Regions from separate parts of the Homo sapiens genome. Here all the other regions are linked to region 1. Evidence: promoter capture Hi-C in 16 types of primary human blood cells and fetal thymus (Javierre and others, 2016). All regions are on one chromosome and are shown on one strand. The core of a region is centred on a gene start or on the middle of the fragment in contact, and the rest is flanking DNA. Distances in the headings are between cores, read along the strand shown. Region 1 holds the start of EIF4A2 (eukaryotic translation initiation factor 4A2). Region 2 has its middle 8.0 kb from the start of TRA2B. Region 3 holds the start of ETV5 (ETS variant transcription factor 5).

The links. Contacts are between HindIII fragments. The CHiCAGO score rates a contact against its expected background, and 5 or more counts as called.
Region 2: a fragment that was not itself captured here is called in contact with the fragment with the promoter of EIF4A2 in region 1 in 2 of 17 cell types (naive CD8 T cells and total B cells); the score reaches 5.5 in naive CD8 T cells.
Region 3: a contact is called between a fragment that was not itself captured here and the fragment with the promoter of EIF4A2 in region 1, in 1 of 17 cell types (fetal thymus). The highest score is 7.5, in fetal thymus.

The regions. Positions count from the first base shown.
Region 1 is chr3:186,781,936-186,785,006 of GRCh38, forward strand. It overlaps EIF4A2 (eukaryotic translation initiation factor 4A2), which reads left to right and starts at 1,642. Exons shown (of 11, transcript NM_001967.4): 1 at 1,642-1,704; 2 at 2,497-2,542; 3 at 2,629-2,761; 4 at 3,027-3,071. The coding sequence starts at 1,676. SNORD2 (small nucleolar RNA, C/D box 2) reads left to right here and starts at 2,861; the gene lies at 2,861-2,930. RefSeq lists an enhancer at 2,318-2,547. The HindIII fragment of the contact is 20,029 bases long and covers 1-1,842 here.
Region 2 is chr3:185,944,438-185,947,508 of GRCh38, forward strand. No RefSeq gene overlaps it. Among named protein-coding and RNA genes, the nearest start is that of TRA2B, 8.0 kb to the left of the region's middle. The HindIII fragment of the contact is 4,953 bases long and covers 1-3,071 here.
Region 3 is chr3:186,106,125-186,109,195 of GRCh38, forward strand. ETV5 (ETS variant transcription factor 5) reads right to left here and starts at 2,965. Exons shown (of 13, transcript NM_004454.3): 1 at 2,816-2,965. RefSeq lists enhancers at 1,688-1,747, 2,506-3,071 and silencers at 2,518-2,617, 2,648-3,071. The HindIII fragment of the contact is 3,357 bases long and covers 1-3,071 here.

The DNA.
Region 1 (3,071 bases), core at 392-2,891:
TGAAAATCCTACACCATCTAGTGTAGTGCTAATCCTAAAGAAAACAACCAACGATTAAGTGTTAATTGTTGATTGGTATCACCCTATGATCAATTGTTTTCACCCTAAGGCTCAAGTGAAACCAAACGGTTGGTCACTTTTTCGATTTAGTATTTTTTCAATTTCTTAGATCTCAGGATATTTTTAGTAGATTTTGGATGAGACAACAAGGATGTCTGACGACCATCATTCTCAGAAAATATCTGGCATCACCTCAAATCTGGATTTCGAACATTACAGAGGGATGAATGAGGAGCAGTACCACTGGACTGAGGGCCTGGCCCACTTTGCCATCTTGGTATTCTTAATCTTTGTCCTAGTTCCTGGCACGATAAGAATTTTCAAATAAATAAATAATTTTTGTATTAAAAAAGTAGTATTTAGAACCGAATATCTTCTATAATATAGAAAATTGAGTCAGCTTTCCCAGTAATGATTCTTTAAGTTGGCCTTCTGAAATATGAGAAAATGTTACCCTGATAGTCTCGATGATATTTTGCACCATGGGTAGGGTTGTATTTTAAAGTTAAATGACTACATATATTGTTTTTTGTTTTTGTCGAGAGACCTGAGATGGGGCTAATTGAAAACGTCTGGAGCTTAAAGACCCGTGCAGTTTACGCAGCAAGGATATTATTGCTCTGAATTTCAATAAATCAACATTTCACTATATATCGGCAAAGTCTACAGCCTTTAAAAAATGACCAATATAGACGGAATCAAAACCGATGTAGTCCCAAAGCGGCACAGAGCTGTATCTGCCAAAGCGTCCATTTAAATTCGTGCGTTCCAAGGAAAATTACTGCTTAGTTTCTATCCATTTGCAAAAGTTTATGATTTTTTTCAGGCATTCCTCACACCTGTTAGGTTAAAATCAGTAACACTCTTAAAAAGAAAGCGAGAGACCGGAAATGATATGAGAATAGAATTGGCCACTCCAGAGACATCTGCAAATGACACTCCATTTTTCCTTCTCGCGCTGCAAAATGTACCGGTAAACCGGACTTCCCGGGACTCGCTGGGTGGCCGACATTTTCCCTAGCAGGAATTTTACGTTTCCAAGATCTGAATGGATGTTAACGGTCGGGCTAAATGCCAGGCAGGTCTTCATTGTGGAATTAAACAGCGGTGGGAGCAAGCGGAATAACCGAGTTCCCCTCCCGCACCTGAGTGCCGGCAGCGAGCCGCGAGCCGGGACCTGTCACCCGCGGGAAGCCCCGGCCGCCCGACGAACAGCATCTCCGGTTTCCGCCTCCGGCTCCGGCGCGGCTCCCCCGGCCCGCCTCTGCGTCAGGGACGCGGAAACCCCGTAGGAGCAGGGCGGGCGGGGAAAGCGAGGTTTAACTAACTCCGCAGCTATATTCTTCCGCCGCGAGGTAAAGAGTCCCAACCCAACCCCGGGCCCTAGGATTTCCAGCGACCCTGTAATATCGAGAAATTACCACATTTGGGTTTTTCTACCAACTTGCTTAGGATTTTATCCGAGGTAACGACCCCAGGATCACAATTTTGTAGCTGACCGAAGCACGGCGAGAAAATTCCTCCGCAAGAAACGGGTTCCGGCCACGAGCCTATAAAAAACGGGTGGTTGGGCGCCGCTGTCTTTTCAGTCGGGCGCTGAGTGGTTTTTCGGATCATGTCTGGTGGCTCCGCGGATTATAACAGGTATGCAGTCTGTTGGCGGTCGCGGTCTGTAGTGAAGGTCATAGGGCGCCAGGGGAGATGATAGTGGATGGCACGGAGGCAAAAACTCTAAATTAATGGACGTTTTCTTAGGGTACAGCACTCCTGTGCCCTTCCAGAAGCTTCCATGATGGGTAGGGCCCGGATTGTGGGGAGATAGGACGGTGGTGCGAAAGCAGTGGCTAAAGGGCGTTTTTCCTCTCTAAGACATTACGAAACTTCGGCTGCTTTCCTTCCCAGTGTAGAGCACGGGAAACATGGAGTAAAAAGCCGTGGCGCAGTCCGAGTTCGGTACACTGTAACCAGGACCCGAAGCTTTATTTTCGGTCATCCACACGAGTTGGGGGAGGGTCCTAGGCTTTACTTGGGGAAGGGTTGGAGGCAGCGGTCTCCACTCGGCCACGGCGCGGAGGCGACGGGACAGGACCGGTGCCGGTGAACCGTTGGCATCGCCCTCGCCAGGCCGCTCCGCCCGCGTCAATCACCCGGCTTGCGCATTGTTGGGGGCGGAGTTCGGCGCTCCGAGCTCTCGCGAGACGCTCCGCAGTTGAAACGGGATCGCCATGCGCTCGGGCCTGGGGGGCTGCCTTTCCGGGCATCCGCAGGCCCCAACCTTTAGGGAAGGCGCACAGTGTGGATATTCGCCCTGAGGCTGCTGCTTTAGCTTGTGCAGGGGAGGCTAACGTGCTGAGACGGGTTGCAAAGGGCTATGCGCTTAAGGTGCAGTTGAGGTGGCCTGGAAGGGGTGTCTGACTGCAGTATTCTTGTCAGCAGAGAACATGGCGGCCCAGAGGGAATGGACCCCGATGGTGTCATCGAGGTAAGAAACGGTTGTGGATCTTGAAGCTTTGGAAAGGTGAGTGTGTTCATCTCATTTATGCGTGCATTATTTTTTCTAACTTACAGAGCAACTGGAATGAGATTGTTGATAACTTTGATGATATGAATTTAAAGGAGTCTCTCCTTCGTGGCATCTATGCTTACGGTTTTGAGAAGCCTTCCGCTATTCAGCAGAGAGCTATTATTCCCTGTATTAAAGGTAAAAGAAACTGGCATTTTTAGGAAATTGTTCTACATAGACATGAACCATAAAAGGGAAAGTAACCTCTGGGGGACTAGCACCTGTTTGTATTCCTTAAAGTGAAATGATGGCAATCATCTTTCGGGACTGACCTGAAATGAAGAGAATACTCATTGCTGATCACTTGATTATTTGGGCATAATGTTCCAAATGGAATACATGGTGTGAAGTAGAAGTGACAATTTGATGTGGGATCGGTAAATGTGTATCCTACTTTTTTTAGGGTATGATGTGATTGCTCAAGCTCAGTCAGGTACTGGCAAGACAG
Region 2 (3,071 bases), core at 198-2,697, 840 kb before region 1:
TTCAAGGGAGTGGTGTAGGAGTGCTCTCAGAGAACTAATGCATCTCTGTATAAAAAGTGACTGAACACCCACTCACTACTTGGAAGTATGAATGTGGAAGTCAAAAACTTTGAGACTTCATTAAGGCAGGTCTTCACGAACCAGCTTAGGACTGAGTGGAAATTAAGAACAACATTGAGTTACTATGCTGACTATGGCTACGTATTGTAGATAATTGAGTTGAAACAACCAATCACTTTCAATGTTCTGAACCCTAAAAAAGGTGGATCACCTAAGGTCAGGAGTTCGAGACCAGTCTGGCTAACATTGTGAAACACTGTCTTTACTAAAAAATACAAAAATTAGCCGGGCGTGGTGGTGCATGCCTGTAATCCCAGCTACTCGGGAGGCCAAGGCATGAGAATCACTTGAACCTGGGAGGCAGAGGTTGCAGTGAGCAGACATCGTACCATTACACTCCGGCCTGGGTGACAAGAGTGAAACTCTGTCTCAAAAAAAAAAAAAAAAAAAAAAAAAAAGAGAGAGAGGCCGGGTGCGGTGGCTCACACCTGTAATCCCAGCACTTTGGGAGGCCGAGGTGGGCGGATCATGAGGTCAGGAGATCGAGACCATCTTGGCTAACTCGGTGAAACCCCGTCTCTACTAAAAATACAAAAAATTAGCCGGGCGCCGTGGCGGGCACCTGTAATCCCAGCTACTCAGGAGGCTGAGGCAGGAGAATGGCATGAACCCGGGAGGCGGAGCTTGCAGTGAGCCGAGATAGCGCCACTGCAGTCCGGCCTGGGCGACAAAGCAAGACTCCTTCTCAAAAAAATAAAAAAAAAAAGAGAGAGAGAGAAGAATGAAATAAAAGACTTTCTCCAGATACTTAAGATAAATCTGGGAAAGAGAGGAAGAGAATAAAAATTAGAATACCCAAATAACAAAATTTAGAGCTCAAACATTAAACATATGAAGAAAATGTTTTGTCTTAGAATTATTATTATGTTACTAATATAGGGTGGGGATAAAAATTCAAACAATAAGAAATGTGCAAAGTGAAAAATGCAAACCCTATTTTCTATCCTCTCTTTCCCAGTCTCGCTCCTCAGAGGTCACCCTAGTTAAAAAATGTAGTGCATAACCTTCTAGACCTTAGATAGATAAATTTAAATTTTTATTTTTATTTTTTTATTATTTATTTATTTATTTTGAGACGGAGTCTTGCTGTCTCCCAGGCTGGAGTGCAGTGGCAAGATCTCGGCTCACTGCAAGCTCCGCCTCCCGGGTTCATGCCATTCTCCTGCCTCAGCCTCCCAAGTAGCTGGGACTACAGGTGCCTGCCACCACACCCGGCTAATTTTTTGTATTTTTGGTAGAGATGGGGTTTCACCATGCTAGCCAGGATGGTCTCGATCTCCTGACCTCACGATCCACCCGCCTCGGCCTCCCAAAGTGCTGGGATTACAGGCATGAGCCACTGAGCCCAGCCTTAAAATTTTCTTTTCATAAACAAATGGAATCATGCTATACATATTTTTTATTTTTTAATTTTTATTTATTATTTTTTTGAGACAGAGTCTCACTCTGTTGCTCAGGCTGTTGTCTCGAACTCCTGACTTCAGGTGACCCACCCGCCTCAGCATCCCAAAGTGCTGGGATTGCAGGCATGAGCCACCATGCCCCGCTCATATTTTTAAATTTTAACATGGTATTCTGTAACTTGCCTTTTTCACTTAGCAATCTAAAATATGCTAAATATTGTTCCACGTCAGTACACATAGATTTATCTCATATTTTAAAACAGTTGTATGGTATTCCGTTGCAAATATGTGCCATAACCTATTATACCATTCCTATTTATGGAGACCTGGAGGGTGAGAAGCCAGCCATTTAAAAAGCAGAGAAAACTGTGTTCCTGGGAAGGGATTAGCAAGGTCACAAAGGCACTGGGGTGAGGATGTTTGTCGGGTTCCAGGAACAGAGAGACCCAACCATGGGATCCCAGTGGGTCCATCTGAGGACCAGAGACTGTGGTACAGAGAGCAGGGCTTGGACTTCCTGGGGTTGTTTCCTGCCTCCACAGTAGCTCTCTGAGAGACCCTGGGCAAGTGTAACCTCTGTGCCTCTGTGGCTTCATCTGTGAAATAGGAATGATAATAATACCTACTTCCTATGCTTGTTGTCAGGATCCAAAGAATTACTATTTTACATAAAAAGCCCTTAGAACAATGTCTAACTCATAATAAGTCAGCAGTGATTATGCAGGTCATGGAAAGGATGTCAGATGTTATTTAAGTGCAGTGGGGGCTGGGCACGGTGGTTCACACCTGTAATTCCAGCACTTTGGGAGGCCAAGGCAGGTGGATGGGTCACTTGAAGTCAGGAGTTCGAGACCAGCCTGGCCAACATGGCGAAACCCCGCCTCTATTAAAAAAATACAAAAATTAGCCAGGCGTGGTGGCAGGCACCTGTAACCCCAGCTACTCGGAAAGCTGAGGCAGGAGAATCTCTTGAACCCGGGAGGCAGAGGTTGCAGTTAGCCAAGATCGTGCCACTGCACTCCAGCCTGGGCAATAGAGTGAGACTTTGCCTCAAAAATAAATAAATAATTAAATAAATGCAATGGGAAGCTATCGAAATGTTTTAATTAGGGGGAATGTCTTGACTCAGTTTTTATTTTTATAAGATTACATTCCCCATTGGATGGAGAATGGGTTGGAAGGAGGTAAAAGCTAGGATACCAGTTAGGAAGCTATTGCATTTGTCCAGGTAAGAGACCATTGCAACACAGTAATAGCAAAGGAGATAGAGAAAAAAGGGCAGTGGTAGATCTATTTTGAGTCCAGAATTGAGTGGACTTGTAATAGGGTAAGGGGATGGAGATGTCAAGAACTCAAGAGGGTCTATGGTGCCCCATACTGAGATGGGGAAACTTGAGGAAGAAGGAGTTTGGGCAGGGCTAAAGGGACAAGAGTTTGATTTTGAATTAAGTTTGAGATGCTTTGAAACATCAAAGTAGAAGTTGTCAAGTAGGCAGTTGAATATACAAATATAAAACTGGATATTCTTTAAAATCTTATTATACATTT
Region 3 (3,071 bases), core at 383-2,882, 680 kb before region 1:
AGGATGTACTCCGTGCCAAATCCATTTACCCAGTCATCATTTTTTCTTTCTTATTTAAATCATTAAAATTACAGATTTGCTACTGTCTGTTCTCTACCAAAACAAAAATAAATAAATAAAATAAAATAAAAGGGTGATTTCAAGATTCTCTCATATACTCCAGGGCATTTGTAGTAGGGTTTTTAAAAAAGAGATAATTTAATTTTTGACAGTACAGTGTCAGGAAGCAGAGAAACTGGGTTTAAGTATTCCAAATTATTGGCAATTAAAGATCTGACATACATGGTGTTTCCAAAAGCATTTTGTAGGTCACTGTTAAAACACTATATATAGTTCCTGGAATAAATTGATCAGAGGTATACTTATCTTCACACACAACTCTTTATTTAAAAGAGGACTAAACAGATATAGCATCTGTAATGTCACAAATATCTCCCTGGTTACTTACAGAGATATTTGTGACATCTCCAACTTCTAAAAGAGTAAAATGTCTATGAAAAGTAATGGATTAAAAAAACTAATTCCATTGCATGTGGTACAATGCATCTCTACCAAAGGTCTTTTAAAACTTAGGCTGTTTCATATAGCGGAATCATTTTTTTCTAGACATACCCCCCCACCCCCAAATGAAACTCATTTCAGGACGGGTAAGTGTGTGAGTCTGGGGAAAAAGGGTGGGGTTAGAAGGGAGAAAACTTCTCCTAACGTGAGTGGAATAAAGTAACAATTTCAGGGAGGTACCATCTTCCTAAACACTTTTATTCTTCAAATAAAAACACCGTTAAGTCAACAAAAGGTGGAAAAACATTAATTTCACTCACTCCAGCTCTAAGCAATTCAAAATGCTTAAAGGTCAACTTCTTTTGTTTGACATATACACAATTTTAAACAGGAAACTTTTCCCCCGGTGAGCAATTCCATCCAATTTGTTTTTCACACTGTGTGTAGCATATCAAATTTTTCATAAGTGGGCAGGATACAAGGACACCCTTCACAGCCAGCATCCTCCGCAGCACTTTGGCCCAAGGAATCAGATATTTTCAAAGTCAAAGGAAAGAGAGGAGCAAAATAGCACACAGTTCATAACTTCCTAGAAAAACACTCGCGCCAGCCTGCCTGCGTGCCCCGTCCAAACACCACAAGAAATGTTCAGAATAACGCCTCTCTCAAATGCCACCAAACCGTATACAAAATCTGAGAAACCTCAGCAGTGAGTTGAGGGGCATGAAAGAGAGAGTGCTCTGTCGCTTAGGAAAATCTGTCAGATTAAATCATGGCCTAAGACATTTTGTGAATGTGTTAGGAGGAAGGGGACAACCAGTAGAAGACGGGAGGGGGAGATATTTTTCAGTCTCATGATGAAATACTTCACCCGGAAGAGCAAAAAAAATTCTAAAAAATTAAAAGAAATAAACTGCCATAAACGAACGGAAAAGAGGCATTCCAGGGTTAGAAAAATTGTATTCCAAGTATAATTTTTTTAAAAGCCTGAAGGAAAGGCTCGAGTTCATCCAGGAGTTTAAACCACTTCCTTTGCCCCCCCACCACCCGCGCCCCGGGCGCCCCCAGGAAAACTTTAGCACAGCGCAGCGGCGCGATCCAGGCCCCTCCCCTGTGGCGCGCAGCGGGCCCGGTTTTATGAATGGGAGAGCGAGCCGCGGCCGCCACATCAGGTAGAGGCTGTAACTGGATCTCTAGCGCTGGGCCCCATTCACAAAACAAGACACACTTCCACCCAATTCTCAGCCTTCCCCATTCATGAAAACTCCTTCAGCTGCGCCCCCGCCCCCATTTCCAACGCACGCCCAGCCTCCGACGCAGGCCCCTCACCCCAGCGTTTTAGGAAGAAAGCTCAATGCTTCATTCACAAAAAGGGAAGAAAAAAAAAAAAGCCGCAGGGAGCAGCGAGCCAACGAAAGAAACCCGCTTCATTCATAAAGTCACCCACATTCATAAAAACGAGGTGCGGCGCCCGGCGCTACCAACCGCTTCCAATCCCCCCACCCCCAACATCTCTCCCTGGCACCCCCTCGTCGACCAGGAGTTCGGTTCCCCCCCGAGTTTTCTCCACCCTCTGAAAATGCGGCCGGAACCCTAATCCGCTGCGAGGCTGCAGCATCTTTCGGTGCTGTCCCCTCCACACCCGTGTTATCCCCACCATCCCCAGGCCGCTGTTCCGGTGCGCCCCGATTTTCTCGAGTCGCCGCACAGCCGGACGCCCTCAGCCTGCTGGGTGGGAGCAGGGCGACTGGATGTCCACTTTCCACCACCTGAAACTTGCAAGGCCTGCGTAAGTTCCTGGTCGACCCCCGCCCCCGCAGGCTGCACTTGCCTGTGTCATTTACCCCCTCCCGGTGCTCTGGGGGGCAGCGCCTCTCAGACATTCCCCTCAAACTGCTTCCCGCCCCCTCCTCCCAACTGCGGAGCTCCGCCAAGCGTCTCTTCTCGCGAGCCTCCAAGTCCCCTCGGGGCTCTCGAATCTCCAGAGACTGTGAAAGCCTCGCAACTCCGCGATCCCCCATCCACTCGGGAGCCCCCGCACTCGCGCTCCGGGGCGCCTCCCCCACGACGTGTGGAAAGCCGCTCTCCCCGCGCTCCGGAACCGTTAGCCGCACCCGCCCGACGCCTCCCAGGAACCAAACCGGACCGGGCCGCGGGGGGAGGGGGCGGTCAACCCGGGGGGGGTCACCCCAGCTACTGCACCCCGACTTTGAAGATTCTGAATCAGCCCGTGAACTCTAGCCGGCTGGGCCTGTCGGACCAGTGGCCGGACGCCCCTTCCGATCTCCCCCCTGCCCCCGCAAAGCCCCCTCACCTGAGGCGGCCTCTCTCCTCCCCTTGCAGCGGCCCCGGCGGCGCAGGCGCGCTCACGCACGCGCGCAGCGGGCCTGGGCGCCTGGGCGAAAGGCTGGGCCGAACCGCTCCGAAGACGGTGAACCGCTCCGCGCACCAGCGGCTGGACTCTGCGCCGCAGCTGCCAACCAGGCTGGAGCGCTGGCCCGGCCCCCCGCGGCTCGCTGCTCCGCCCGCCGCCATTGGCCCGCGGCCCTAGCCCAGCCTTGTTCCCATTG